Regions from separate parts of the Homo sapiens genome. Here regions 1, 2, 3 and 4 are each linked to region 5. Evidence: promoter capture Hi-C in 16 types of primary human blood cells and fetal thymus (Javierre and others, 2016). All regions are on one chromosome and are shown on one strand. Each heading gives the region's core, a stretch centred on a gene start or on the middle of the fragment in contact. The rest is flanking DNA. Distances are from core to core; before and after follow the strand shown. Region 1 overlaps HORMAD2 (HORMA domain containing 2). Region 2 overlaps HORMAD2-AS1 (HORMAD2 and MTMR3 antisense RNA 1). Region 3 overlaps MTMR3 (myotubularin related protein 3). Region 4 overlaps MTMR3 (myotubularin related protein 3). Region 5 holds the start of NF2 (NF2, moesin-ezrin-radixin like (MERLIN) tumor suppressor).

Region 1 (2,700 bases), core at 150-2,649, 500 kb before region 5:
CACACTCCAGCCCGGACAATGAAATGAGACTCCCTCTCAAAATAAATAAATAGAGTTTTGGTTTAAAGTAGTCCAAGATCAATCACTGATTTATGTGTGATTTTGCATAAGCAACTTCACCTTTTCGTATTGTTTTCCTATACTAAAATTGATGTTACCTGTATCTCTATTGAGGGATATGAAAATTATCCCATGTTGATATAACATTCAGAAATTACAAGAGAGTGACACAGGAGTATTAAGCATTTTTATGATGTATATTACTTTAAGAACAAACATTGAAAGGGAGACATAAAACTTCCACAATAACTGTCACAAAAAATAAAGCTATAGGGAATGGTATCATTGCCGTTGCCTAGGGTAGTGACTGGCACACAATATGTGCTTATTATCAAAAATATGTCTTTCTCAATTCTATGTTCTAGACAAGAGGGAAAATTACAAATATATGTTAGATATAAACACATTCACTATTACAAGTTTGTATCTCATAGACCAAAAGATGTCATAATACAAATGAGGTTGTCATGATTGCAAATATCATGTTTATGTGCTTATAGCACACATGCATTTTATTGATGCTCTTACATTACTTAAGATAATTTTTTTTTTTGAGACAGAGTCTCACTGTATCACTCAAGCTGGAATTCAGTGGTGCAATCACAGCTCACTGTAGCCTTAACCCCCCAGGCTCAGATGATCCTCCCACCTCAGCCTCCAGAGTAGCTGGAATTACAGGCACTCACCACCATGGCCAGCTAATTTTTTGTATTTTTTATAGAGACAGGGTTTCACCGTGTTGTTCAGGCTGGTCTTGGATTCCTAGGCTCAAGCAGTCTGCCCACCTTGCCTTTCAAAGTGTTATGGTTACACTTTGGATTACAAGCCTGAGCCACCATGCCCAACCAAGAGAATTAGACTGAAATGAGGCCAAGGTATATCATTAAATACAGATGTAAGAAATTTAAAATTAGATTTTGAAAAATAACATCTTACAAGGCAACTTGTAGCTCTCTATGTTTATTTTCCAAATGACAGTTCCTATTTTAGTGACAAGTCAACAAGATTCACAATCCAGCTTTTTTTTTTTTTAATACTTTAAGTTCTGGAATACATGTGCAGAAAGTGCAGGTTTGTTCATGTGCCATGGTGGTTTGTTGCAACCATCAACCCATCATCTAGGTTTTAAGCCCCACATGCATTAGGTATTTGTCCTAATGCTATTCCTTCCCTTGCCCCCCACCCCCCTACAGGCTCCAGTGTGTGATGTTCCCCTTCCTGTTTCCATGTGTTCTCATTGTTCAACTCCCACTTATGAGTGAGAACATACATAACACAGGTTTTCTGTTCCTGTGTTAGTTTGCTGAGAATGATGGTTTCCAGCATCATCCATGTTCCTACAAAGGACATGAACTAATTATTTTTCATGGGTACATAGTTTTCTATGATGTATATGTGCCACATTTTCTTTATCCAGTCTATCATTGATGGGCATTTGGGTTGGTTCCAAGTCTTTGCTATTGTAAATAGTGCTGCAATAAACATATGTGTGCATGTGTCTTTATAATAGAATGATTTATAATACTTTGGATATATACCCAGTAATGGGATTACTTGGTCAAATGGTATTTCTGGTTCTATATCCTTGAGGAATTGCCACACTGTCTTCCACAATGGTTGAACTAATTTACACTCCCACCAACAGTGTAAAAGCATTCCTATTTCTCTACATTCTCTCCAGCATCTGTTGTTTCCTGACTTTTTAGTGATTTCCGTTCTAACTGGCATGAGATGGTATCTCATTGTGGTTTTGATTTGCATCTCTCTAACGACCAGTGATGATGAGCTTTTTTTCATATGTTTGTTGGCTGCATAAATGTCTTCTTTTGAGAAGTGTCTGTTCATATCCTTTGCCCACTTTTTGATGGGGTTGTTTTATTCTTGTAAATTTGTTTTAAGTTCCTTGTAGATTCTGGATATTAAACCTTTGTCAGATGGATAGATTGGAAACATTTTCTCCCATTCTGTATGTTTCCTGTTCACTCTGATGACAATTTCTTTTGCTGTGCAGAAGCTCTTTGGTTTAATTAGTTCCCATTTGTCTATTTTGGCTTTTGTTGCAATTGCTTTTGGTGCTTTAGTCATGAAGTCTTTGCCCATGCCTATGGCCTGAATGGTACTGCCTAGGTTTTCTTCTAGGGTTTTTATGGTTTTAGGTATTACATTTAAGTCTTTAATCCATCTTGAATTAATTTTTGTATAAGGTGTAAGGAAGGGGTCCAGTTTCGGTTTTCTGCGTATGGCTAGCCAGTTTTCCCAGCACCATTTATTAAATAGGGAATCCTTTACTCAATGCTTGTTTTTGTCAGGTTTGTCAAAGATCAGATGGTTGTAGATGTGTGGTGTTATTTCTGAGGCCTCTGTTCTGTTCCATTGGTCTATATATCTATTTTGGTAGCAGTACCATGCTGTTTTGGTTACTGTAGCCTTGTAGCATAATTTGAAGTCAGGTAGCATGATGCCTCCAGCTTTGTTCTTTTTGCTTAGGATTTTCTTGGCTATATGGGCTCCTTTTTGGTTCCATATGAAATTTAAAGTAGTTTCTTCTAATTCTGTGAAGAAAGTCAATGGTAGCTTGATGGGAATAACATTGAATCTATAATTTACTTTGGGCAGTATGGCCATTTTCATGATACACAA
Region 2 (2,700 bases), core at 118-2,617, 440 kb before region 5:
CTGCTCCATCTCCCCTGGCCACATGCCCCACCAAGTACTGCACAGGGACCCACACCCAGGGGCCCTGCTCCATGAGATAATGTGAAATACGACTGTGGACCAAATGCAATAAAACATCTGTTTGTAAGAAGAGAAAAAAAAGAAAAAAGAAAAATTCACAATGGCCAATAAACATATGAAAATATTCTTAATCCCATTAGTGAGCAGGGAAATGCCTTAGGGCCTAGACGCAGGAGAAGGAGGTCATTCTTTTTGTTTAGAAGATAATCCCGATCCTTCATTTTGGCACAGCTGAAACACAAATTGGCACACCAAGAATTAATGGATCAATGAAGAGCAAGAGTTCTCCAGGTAGGAAATAAGAAGACTGGAACATGAGCATACAAACCATGCTAAAGGAAGAGCCTTCTTGGGCAATGTCTATATATGTGGAATTAAATCTTCAGAAGAACAGTCCATGCAGTGTCTGCTCATTGCAGAGCTCTCAGTTCAGAAACAATAGCCACTTTCGAGAGCACTACTGGAGAGGTAGCTCAGCCCACTCTTGAGAACCCCAGGCCAGTCCCATTTCCCACAAGCCAGCTGTAATAAGGAGTAAATCTGGGGTGTGGGGTATTGAGTAGGGCACAGGGCCAGGAAAAACAAGTTAGAGAGTCTCTAGGCACCGGTGAGTCATGTTGATCATATGATAGATCAATTCAAATGAGGTAATAAATGACTAAAGTGCACTTCTAGGCTAGCACATAGTTGTGGCAAGAGGAGTTTGTCTTCTTTTTTCTTATTCCCAAACCAGCACGATTTGTCTTCAGTGACCCTTACAGCATTCTTTGTGCTGACAATGAGTGGGTCAGCTTGGTCTTTTCTGGAGGATAGACGAAGAGCTAAAAGTATCCAAAAGAAACCAGATAACAAAAACCTGAAGCCTGAAGACATTTTTCTTGTGTGTCAAAGTCCTAATTTTAGACCCAGTTGAAGGCTCATTATCCAACATATTACAGTATGGAATTGTACCTCTGCTGCATCTAGAAGGAACTGTCCATCACCAGAAAGAAAACAGCCTGCTCAGTCGATCTTCAACATTCATGGATTCCGGTGATGGCAAAAGTGATTCCTGACTTTCACAGTCAGTTGCTTTTTGATCTCTCTTTCGAGTCACCCTCAGAGGATACCTGGGTACCCATTTCTCTTCCTGGTTACTCTCCTCTTTCTCCATCCACTACCCACCCCACCCCTGCCCTGAGTCCTCGTTCCAGTCTTGACTGTAGTAACAGTCCTGGGCCTTCTCCTAAATACAGCATAAACCAGACCAACAAACCTTTCTCTTGAGGGTTCTGATAGTCCCCAGCCATCCTTCCATGACTTATGCTAAGCAGCTCTCTCTCTCTCTGGGTAAAAAGGGCAAGGAACAAAAGGATTCTGTGAAACAGGAAATCCTTTTCTTCCACAAAGTCAAACCAGATATTAGACTTTTGGGTTGGACATAAGTTTATTTGCATGTTTGTCTGCTGCTATGCTTTTATGCTTCAGAAGCTAGGCTGAGATTACAGGTTGAATGTCCCTTATCCAAAATGCTGGGACCAGAAGTGTTTTGGATTTTTTATTTTTTCGGATTTTGGAATATTTGCATTATCCTTAATAGTTCAGCATCCCTAATCTGAAAATCTGAAATCCAAAATGCTCCAGTGAACATTTCCTTTGAGCATGTCAGTTCTCAAAACGTTTCAGATTCTGGATTGGGGATGCCGAACCTGCAATAAATTGCTCCTCCCTTCGTCTCCCCACGGGTTCTATATTGTATTTAAGCTGCCCTCCCTCCCTTCCTGTAACTGTGAGTGCCAAAGCAACTCAGATGTGCCTCCACTCTAAGCTATAAAGAAATAATTAGCCACAGTTAATGGCCCATAATTTGTTATTTCTGTATCCTGTTCCTCAGGGTTCCCTCCTAAATTATTATCAGGAAGAAACATAAAACTACACATAAAACTGTATTTCATAGAAACAAAAAAAATTGAGCTCCTTTTTTTGCTTTGTCTCCCTGTGATTTGAAGAAGTTGGACTTCCTAGATGGAAATGAGGTTCACTGCCACGGATGGGAAAGGCTGCCGCACGTTGGTTTGCCTCATTATGTTGCAGACATACATACAGGACCGACTATATAATTTGTGGGAGGGACCTAGTGAAAAATGAAAGTGTGGGGTCCTTTGTTTAATGTTAGTAATTTCAAGACTGCAACAGAGGAGCATTAAACGGAAGGTGGGCCCTTCTGAGTGTGGGGTCGTGTGTAACTGCAGAGGCTGCACACCTATGAAGCCAGCTCTGCACACAGAGAATGGTCTCAGGACTAGAAAGACCAAGGGAACTCCACCCTGAGAAGGTCAGGAGAAAGCACGGGTGAGGTGGTGAATGGTGTGGCCAAGGACAGTGTCGTCTAGGTGGTTCTCTGAAATGCAATCTGCTTGGCACTGGATATTGGAGGGCCCAAGGATCAGAGGTACACGTATACATGAGGACGCTGGAAGGAAGCAGGGCGAAGGGTGTGAGAATGCTGAGATTGAAGGAGGGGTGGCACAGAGCGGGAGTTCTAGGCATGGAATCATCTTGTTTTGTTTTCAATCAACCCATTTCTTTCTTTTTTTTTTTTTTAACTGAAGTAGAATGTATCAAATTTAGATGAATGACCTTTTTCCCTCCAAATCTGCT
Region 3 (2,700 bases), core at 141-2,640, 390 kb before region 5:
TCAGTAAATCTAAAATAACTTTCTTCCTTGAAAACATACACAGTCCTAGGGCAGCATGTTATTTTAAAAAATATTAAGCAGAACCTCTAATATATAGTGGTACAGGTTGTAAAATAAGTGCTAGCAGGGCTGGAAGAAACCACAACAACAAAAGCACAAAACAGATTTCACTTTAGTGTTCAGAGTATAAAGCTTTGTTCTCCCTGGGAGAGGAGCTACAGAATAGGAAACAGCAATTACTTGGATGGAAGACAATTCTGTTAAACTACTTCCCATTTAAACTGCTTTTCTTGAGCTCAAGCTAGGTATTATACATTTCCTGAAGGAGAGCTATAAAAAGATGAGGTTGAGAGAATATGAGGTGCAAGAAGAAATAAAAACTAAATCCATCCCATTTTGGAAAAGTTTTAGAAGCAATGTAGCAGGCTTCCAAACAGGAAAAAACTATCTGAATTGGGGTGCCATCTGTCTACAAATTGCAAGGAATATTGACCATCAAGAATACTAGGCCAGACGCGGTGCCTCACACCTGTAATCCCAGCACTTTGGGAGGCTGATGCAGGCAGATTGCTTGAGCCCAGGAGTTCAAGACCAGCCTGGGCAACATCTGGTCAACCCCATGGGCAACCCCATCTCCACAAAAATGCAAAAATTAAGTTGTGGTGGTCCATGCCTATAGTCCCAGCTACTTGAGAGGCTGAGGTGGGAGGATCACCTGAACCTAGGGAAGTTGAGGCTGCAGTGAGCCATCATCACACCATTGCACTCCAGCCTGGGCAACAGAGTGAGACCCTGTCTCAAAAAAAGGGGAAAAAAACAAAACAAAACGAACAAAAAAAACAGACAAGGAGTCTTTAATTCATAATCCCAATCTAAAAGCTGCAAAACTGTGGCAAATTCCAAGTTCATTAAGAGATTTTTTCCCCCGACTCTGGGATATAGCTCCAAGTCTTTGCAAAAGCTGTAAGTATTTCATTAATGATTTATTTTTTTTGTGCTTTTCTTGAACTGTACATTAATGATCTTTTACATTAACACCTCTATCTCAGGATAAAACACATAGATACCCTTAAAGGATCTTGTGATTTAAAAATAACCACTGGCAAAATAATAACAGTAACAATCACTATCACTAGCAATTTACTTCATAGAACCATTTCCCCAAAGAAGGACTTAGAACCACCATCCAGAGCACAACATTCTGAGCTATACGCAGAAATATATACTGACTAGCAGGTATAGAAAATCTGTTATTTCGAGTTCTTTGGGAATGGGAATGAGTTTTAATTATTTTTATATCCTCTAAGGCAGTGACTTCATAAACTCTGAAACTGACCATCACAACCCACAATAAGAATTATGTTTTACAACACAATACAACAAACATGTTTTAATTTATTCAGTTTTTGAGAGACCGGGTTTTCCCTCTGTTGCCTAAGCTGGATTTGAACTCCTAAACTCAAACAATCTTCCCACCTCAGCCTCTTGAATAGCTAGGACTATAGGTAGACACTGTGCCCAGCTAATACAACATACATTATTTTTTTGAAAGCATTTCACAAAACAATACCCACTCTTAATATGTGTGTGACACAATTTGATATTTTCTATTCCATTTCTTTAAAATTAGATTTCATGACCCACTACTGGATCATAACCTATTTGAAAACCACATCATTACATACATCAGGAATTCAACCAGCTTTTGCAAATTGTGTGAGATGTTCACTCACGTTTACTTAGCCAGAAAAATAAACACAAACAGATCTATTGCTGGATTCCCCTTAAAAATCTCCATCTCAGAATTCTCAGGTCTCAATCAATTCAACATTAAATACATTGTGATATCCCAACTTTCTTTAAATACTGGGGCTATAAGGTTTTTGTTTGGCTTTATATTTCCATTTCAACCCTTCCTATCTGCCTTTGTCCCTTTTCAGCATTTAGTGTTTCTTATAATAAAAATAATACAGTCCAGCAATTTTCACTTTAGTGGAAATGAAAACTTTCTTTTTAAAAGCAATGAAGTTCCCTAACTCCCTCTATCACAAACACAGTGTCAATCAGCAATCTAAAAAATTTTCCCCCAAAAGTCTAGCTCCCTGGCTGATCCTGAGTAGTCAAGCCCACAATTACACACAGCTTAAAAGGCCTGGGACAGAAGGGACAGGCCTTTACCTGGCAGGTGAGGAAGCAGACCAATACCAGAGTCAGAGAAGGTAAGAACTACCTCTTAGCAGATTTTCAAATACGGAGAAAGGAATTATGCTTTTCTATGTACAAAGGTCACAGTAAATCCTCTAGATGCAACTTCCTGGACTGCATTCAAACCCGGAAGACAGATAAATAGGCAGCTTCACAGCAGTGTTAAGACCCAGAGTCATATGCTAGTCGTGGATAAACAAGATGGGCTTAAGGGACATTTCACATGAGAGAGGTTAGAGAGGTAGGCCTGATGCTACTAAACTGGCAGCTAAGCTGCCCAGTCATCTGTCAGGCCTCCAGATTAACACTCTAGTACAGAGCCATCACCAACAAGTCAATTGCAATGAGGAGCAGGAAGTTAAGGACATGGGAGAGAAGCTTTTAGCTTTCAGTCCACTTTTTTAGAGTTTGAGGGGCTAAGAGAAGGGTCAAGAATTTGGCAAAGGCTTCTGCAGGTTTCACAGGTAAACTCCAACAGCAATGTTGAAACTTCTT
Region 4 (2,700 bases), core at 75-2,574, 410 kb before region 5:
CTGACACATAGGTCTATGTGCCTCCTTTTCTCTGCTTAACAGAAGGTATTCATTCCTTCGGGGAACAAAGTCTTAAAGGGCCTGCCAGCTCTTCATGTGAGCAGAGAATCAGACAGACACACATACCAATGTCAAACACAGTTTACTGTTCTGAGACAGAAGCTTTGGTGGGTATCATTGCTTATTGACACTGGGAGGGTGCTGGGGGCCTGGTGGCAGCTCATTCTGAGCTATCAGTGCATCAGGAAGCAACTTAAGTGCCTCTCCCGTAAGACAGAATATGCTAGAAATAAGCTCTGGAGGCAGTGCCAAAAAAGATTCATGTCTAGGGTGGCAAAGTAGAGATCTGTGTTAAACCAAACCACCCTCAGCAAGTAGTCATCAGAAACAGATCAGAGCACCATCAGAAGCAGGCCTTCCTCAGGACAGAATCATGGGGGAAAAATGGAACCAGTCCATCCAGAGACAGTAGAGATGTCTTCACAAAAACAGTCACTACTCAAAAAGGCTCTCATATGTAACCAACCCCAAATTCCTTCTGCTGACCACAGTGGAAAGGCTGAAGGATACATACGGCTTCTGACTGAGAGGAATACAGTAGGTTTTTGAAAGCCTTGTTGCCTGCCCGAAGAAGTGACCACACGGAACATGTCCGTTCCTGAGTATGCTTTTCCCCTCTCTCCTTGGCGTTGTTGCACAGGAATGTTCCAAACAGGCAGGAATAGGTATGCTGCACCAGTTTCACCTATGGAAGTCCAATGAAGCACAAATTAAGCAATCAGGCATGCACACTCTGATAAGTCAGCTCAGCTGAGCCACCTTATCCTAACATCCCTGAGAACACTTCAATTTACTCTGTCAGGACGGGGAACCCAGTAAGCCATGCAGTAGCCTCCTCCTCCTCACACCACCAATTCCAGGACCCAACAACCTGAGTCAGACAGGTTGTTGGTGCCCCTATTCCTCTTAGCTTCCGTGATAAATAGTCTGAGATTGTGAATTAACAGCCACTCTCACAAGCGCCACAGCATATGAACTGGGTGCAGGAGCACGTCAGTGTACAACTCAAGTCTGAGCTGACAGTATGTTTGTAAAACTACTTGTTCATTCTACAAATTATTGAGCATTTCACATGGCCCAAACATGACTAAGGTGCTGGGCATGTAGCAATGACCAGCAAATTCTTCTGCCCTGATGGAGCTTGCTCTAGTCATAGCTGAAGAGTGACCAGTGCTATGGAGAACAAGGCAGACTGAGATGGACAGGACACATATGAGGCAGTGCAGGATGGCCTCACTGGCTGGGACCCAGTGGACTTGAAAGAGCAGGCATGTGGGTATCTGAGGGGAAGCACTCCAGGCAGAGGCAACCACAGGTGCAATGGCTTTGAGGTAAAGCACATGCTTGCAATTTCTGAGCTACAGCAAGGAGGCCAGTGTGACTAAAGGAGATTGCAGAAGAGGGAGAATGGTAGGAAATGAACCTAGAGAGGTAACCTCTAGGAAGGCCCTGGAGACCATTTTAAGAACTTTGGCTTTTGTGTAAAATGTAACTAGAGGTTTTTAAGCCAAGGAATGACACAGCCTGCCTTGTGTTTTAGAAGAGACTCTATGCTGGGATAACTCAATTGGGGCAGGAGATGATGGTGGCTTGAACCAGTGTGGTACCAGTAAAGGTGGCAATAAATAACCAGGTTTTAGATAGATTGCGAAAGCAGAGCTGCAGAATCTGACTGAATGTGGAAGAGGGAGGGAGGGAAGGAGGGAGGGAGGGAGGGAGGGAGGAGACTTGACGATGACAAAGAATTTTGCCCCAAACAAAAGGAGGGATGGAAATGCCATATGGTGAGAGAGAAGACTTCTGGAAGATCAAGTTTTATAGTGAGGAAACACAGGAATCAAGAATCAAGTTTTGGACAGGCATGGTGACTCATGCCTGTTAATACCAGCATTTTGGAAGGCCGGGGTGGGAGGATATTGTTTGAGCCCAGGTGTTTGAGACCTGCCTGGGCAACAAAGCAAGACCCCATCTCTTAAAAAAAAAAAAAAAATTAAAAACATCAGCCAGGCACAGTGGTACGCACCTGCAGTCCTAGCTACTCAGGGGGCTAAGGTGAGAAGATCACTTGACCCTGGGAGTTCAAGGCTGCAGTGGGCTGTGTTTGCGCCACTGTACTCCAGCCTGGGTGACAGAGTGAGATGCTGTCTCCAAAAAGAAGCATCAAGTTTTGAATTTATTAAGTCTGAATCAACATTAAGACAGCCAAGTGGAGATACCTAGTAGTAACTTAGATACGTGAGTCTGAAGTGGAGAGGTCTAAGCTGAAGGTGTATAAATGTGGGACTCATCAGCATACAGATGGCAATTAAAGCCACTAGAATGGATGAAATACTTGGAAGTGTGGATGGAGGAGCAGCCTGGAGGCTGAGCAAGGGGGCATTCCAACATTTAGAACTGGGGAGAGGAGGCTAGGTGTCGAAGCTTACGCCTGTAATTCTTTGGGCAACCAAGGCGGGAGAATCACTTGCCAGGAGGTTTGAGACCAGCCTGGGCAACATAGCGAGACTCCATGTCTATTTACAAAAAATTTTTAAAAACTAGCCAGGCATCTTGGCATGTGCCTGTGGTCCCAGCTACTGGGGAGGCTGAGGTGGGAGAATCTCTTGATCCCAGAAGTTTGAGGATGCAGTGAGTTATGAT
Region 5 (2,700 bases), core at 21-2,520:
TTTGTGTTACAATGGTAGAGTTGAAGAGTTGAATAACTCCAACAGAGATTCTCTAGTCTACAAAGTTGAAAATATTTACTATGTGGTCCTGTACAGAAAAAGCATGCCAACCCTTGCTTACTGCTGCCAATGCTGCTGGTCCACAAACCACACTTTTAGCAGCAAGAACTTAAATTACTTGAGAAGCAGTACTGTACGGGCTGTGAGCTTGGTTCAAAACCCCACCTTGCCATTTACTAGATAAATGGGTTTGTTCTGAGGATTAAATGTGCAAATGTCTAGCACTTTGAAAATACTGAACAATTGATAGCTGTTATCATCATGTTGGAAACTATGTGGAAAGTAAGTATGAGATGTTATATCGTTCTTCAAAGGGTTTTTTTTCCCAGAATATGCAAGCTTTAGAAAAGGGAAACAAGTATTGGCTTTCCAATAAACAAGACGCAACTTCTAATACCTGGGTACATAACAATATTACCTAATGAAAGAATAAACTTTCAAGCTTTTAAGCGTAAGCCTAACTTAAGCCTGACACTGAAATCCTGAATTTTCTATCACAGGAGCATCCAGCTTCTTCCAATAACAATGAATGAAAATAACCTTCAGGAAATGCCAAAACCCAAAAGTCCTATGAAAAAAAGCAGCAATCATCTTTAACATGAGGTTTTGGGCCTAGTTGGCCCTTCCGGTTCTGCCCGTCTCTAGCTACACCCATAAGATGATATAAAGAGAACCTCTCGAGCTTCCACCTCGACTGTCACCGCAGCAGTCGGGGCTGCCGGCCGGTTACCTCGCAATTGAACTCCATCTCGGCGTCCATGGTGACGATCCTCACGGTGAACGTCTTGGGTTGCTTCCTCTTGAGAGAGCTGAAGCTCATGCGGGAAGCGATGGCCCCGGCCATGGCGCGGGGCTCAGGCCCGGGACCCTCGCGCCCCACGGCCTGCACTCTGAGCCCTTTAGCCCCCCTGGAGTTGCTGCACAGGCCTCAGGGCCACCATGGTGGCCGGCTGCCCGGCCCGGGAACGGTCTGGGCTGCGCGGGTCCCCAGCGGCCAGCATGGGCCGCGAGGACCCTGCCTGAGCGGAAAGGGGAGTTGGGGGACGGGCCCTGACGGCTGCAGGGAGGGCACAGGAGCCGGGACCTTCGGTGCAGGCGCGACCCGGCACTCCGGGATTCGGGCCGGAGATGCCGGGGACGCCTCGGGACGGGACCCCTAGACGGCAGCGGCCCAGACTCCGCGCGCCTCTCAGCGGCCGACTAGGGTCACGGGGCCGCGCTGCATCGGGCGCGTACGCGCGCGCGTGGCTGTCACCGTCCTCACTCCGCGCGCCCGCGGGAAGCGCACCCTCCCCACAGCCCGGGGCCTGCTCCCGGCCCCGCCCTCAGGTCGCCCAGACCACTACGCGCAGCGCAACCGAACCGGAGGCTGACGCATAGATGCTGCGATTGGCTGGGAAGGCCAAGGTAGGCAGGACTTTCCCGCTCCGTCCCGCCTCCTTTGGGGTGACTCCACCAATGGAAAGTTTCACTCTAACTGCAAAAAAAGCAGGCCTAGGCTCGGCGTTGAGTGGCTACAGTGGCAGTCACTCTGAATGCTTTTGTGCCTACTCTAACAAGACTGGTTGAGGCGGCGGACCTCTGCTGACCTTACCCGGGAAACCACTTAGAGGCTGGATCCGGGGCGAGGGGAATTGGGTCCTTCGTTGGCCCAGGGAGGGACTCTTCGGTTCAAGTAGGCTCCGAGTGTGGCGCCCCAGGGGACTGCGTTTCGGACACACGGCGAATATTCTTCTTTGGCAGTTAATCACATATACCGACCCCTATGAAACTTTAAAGACACTTGTGGAGGCCTGTTAGGTTTGCTGGCACTTTCCCGCCAGATCCCTCTGCTTCCCTTTAGAATTATTATTATTATTGTTATTATTATTATTATTAATTATTATTATTATTGGGACGGAGTTTCGCTCTTGTTGCCCAGGCTGGAGTGCAGTGGCGCGATCTCGGCTCACTGCAACCTCCGCCTCCCGGGTTCAAGCGATTTTCCGGCGTCAGCCTCCCGAGTAGCTGGGATTACAGGTATGCGTCACCACGCCCGGCTAATTTTGTATTTTTATTAGAGACGGGGTTTCTCCATGTTCGTCAGGCTGGTCTCGAACCTCAGGTGATCCGCCCGCCTCGGCCTCCCGAAGTGCTAGGATTACAGGCGTGAGCCACCACGCCCCGCCTAGAATTATTATTGGTTATACCTACCTCGTGAGGTTGTTGAATTTCAGCGCACTGAATACATATAAGGCTTTAGAGCTGAGCCTGGCATCCTATGAAATTGCTGAATTTGGGTTGAAAATGAAAGCATTCTTTATTTTATACTCTATGATGCCCATTTTTGAACCGTATTCATGTATTATTTATTTAGTGTCATCAAGGGTTCTAACGGGTGTAGGGGGGATAATTACACCTTTCTGTACTTAGATAATAAATTCTATTTTAAAATAGCTCTTAGTAGTCAAATAGGGACAATTTACTGTGTTTTTTCGTTTGTTTTTTGTTTTGAGACAGAGTTTCGCTCTTGTTGCCCAGGCTGGAGTACAATGGGGCGGTCTCGGCTCTCTGCAACCTCCGCCTCCCGGGTTCAAGCAATTCTCCTGCCTCAGCCTCCCCAGTAGTTGGGATTACAGGCACCCGCCACCACGCCCGGCT

Evidence for each region. Contacts are between HindIII fragments. The CHiCAGO score rates a contact against its expected background, and 5 or more counts as called.
Region 1: a contact is called between a fragment that was not itself captured here and the fragment with the promoter of NF2 in region 5, in 1 of 17 cell types (naive CD4 T cells). The highest score is 7.4, in naive CD4 T cells.
Region 2: a contact is called between a fragment that was not itself captured here and the fragment with the promoter of NF2 in region 5, in 1 of 17 cell types (M0 macrophages). The highest score is 5.1, in M0 macrophages.
Region 3: a contact is called between a fragment that was not itself captured here and the fragment with the promoter of NF2 in region 5, in 4 of 17 cell types (M1 macrophages, total CD4 T cells, neutrophils and 1 more). The highest score is 6.2, in M1 macrophages.
Region 4: a contact is called between a fragment that was not itself captured here and the fragment with the promoter of NF2 in region 5, in 1 of 17 cell types (total CD8 T cells). The highest score is 5.4, in total CD8 T cells.

What each region holds. Positions count from the first base shown.
Region 1 is chr22:30,099,981-30,102,680 of GRCh38, reverse strand. All of the region lies in intron 3 of HORMAD2 (HORMA domain containing 2), which reads right to left. Among named protein-coding and RNA genes, the nearest start is that of HORMAD2, 21 kb to the right of the region's middle. The HindIII fragment of the contact is 7,543 bases long and covers 1-2,700 here.
Region 2 is chr22:30,042,544-30,045,243 of GRCh38, reverse strand. All of the region lies in intron 2 of HORMAD2-AS1 (HORMAD2 and MTMR3 antisense RNA 1), which reads left to right. Among named protein-coding and RNA genes, the nearest start is that of HORMAD2-AS1, 36 kb to the left of the region's middle. The HindIII fragment of the contact is 4,004 bases long and covers 1-2,700 here.
Region 3 is chr22:29,994,844-29,997,543 of GRCh38, reverse strand. The region is part of intron 7 of MTMR3 (myotubularin related protein 3); the gene reads right to left. Among named protein-coding and RNA genes, the nearest start is that of MIR6818, 11 kb to the left of the region's middle. The HindIII fragment of the contact is 2,391 bases long and covers 195-2,585 here.
Region 4 is chr22:30,014,573-30,017,272 of GRCh38, reverse strand. It overlaps MTMR3 (myotubularin related protein 3), which reads right to left. Exons shown (of 20, transcript NM_021090.4): 15 at 575-745. The region is part of intron 4 of HORMAD2-AS1 (HORMAD2 and MTMR3 antisense RNA 1); the gene reads left to right. Among named protein-coding and RNA genes, the nearest start is that of MIR6818, 8.9 kb to the right of the region's middle. The HindIII fragment of the contact is 2,319 bases long and covers 165-2,483 here.
Region 5 is chr22:29,602,203-29,604,902 of GRCh38, reverse strand. NF2 (NF2, moesin-ezrin-radixin like (MERLIN) tumor suppressor) reads right to left here and starts at 1,270. Exons shown (of 16, transcript NM_000268.4): 1 at 791-1,270. The coding sequence starts at 904. RefSeq lists a silencer at 925-1,504 and an enhancer at 1,755-1,884. The HindIII fragment of the contact is 9,228 bases long and covers 505-2,700 here.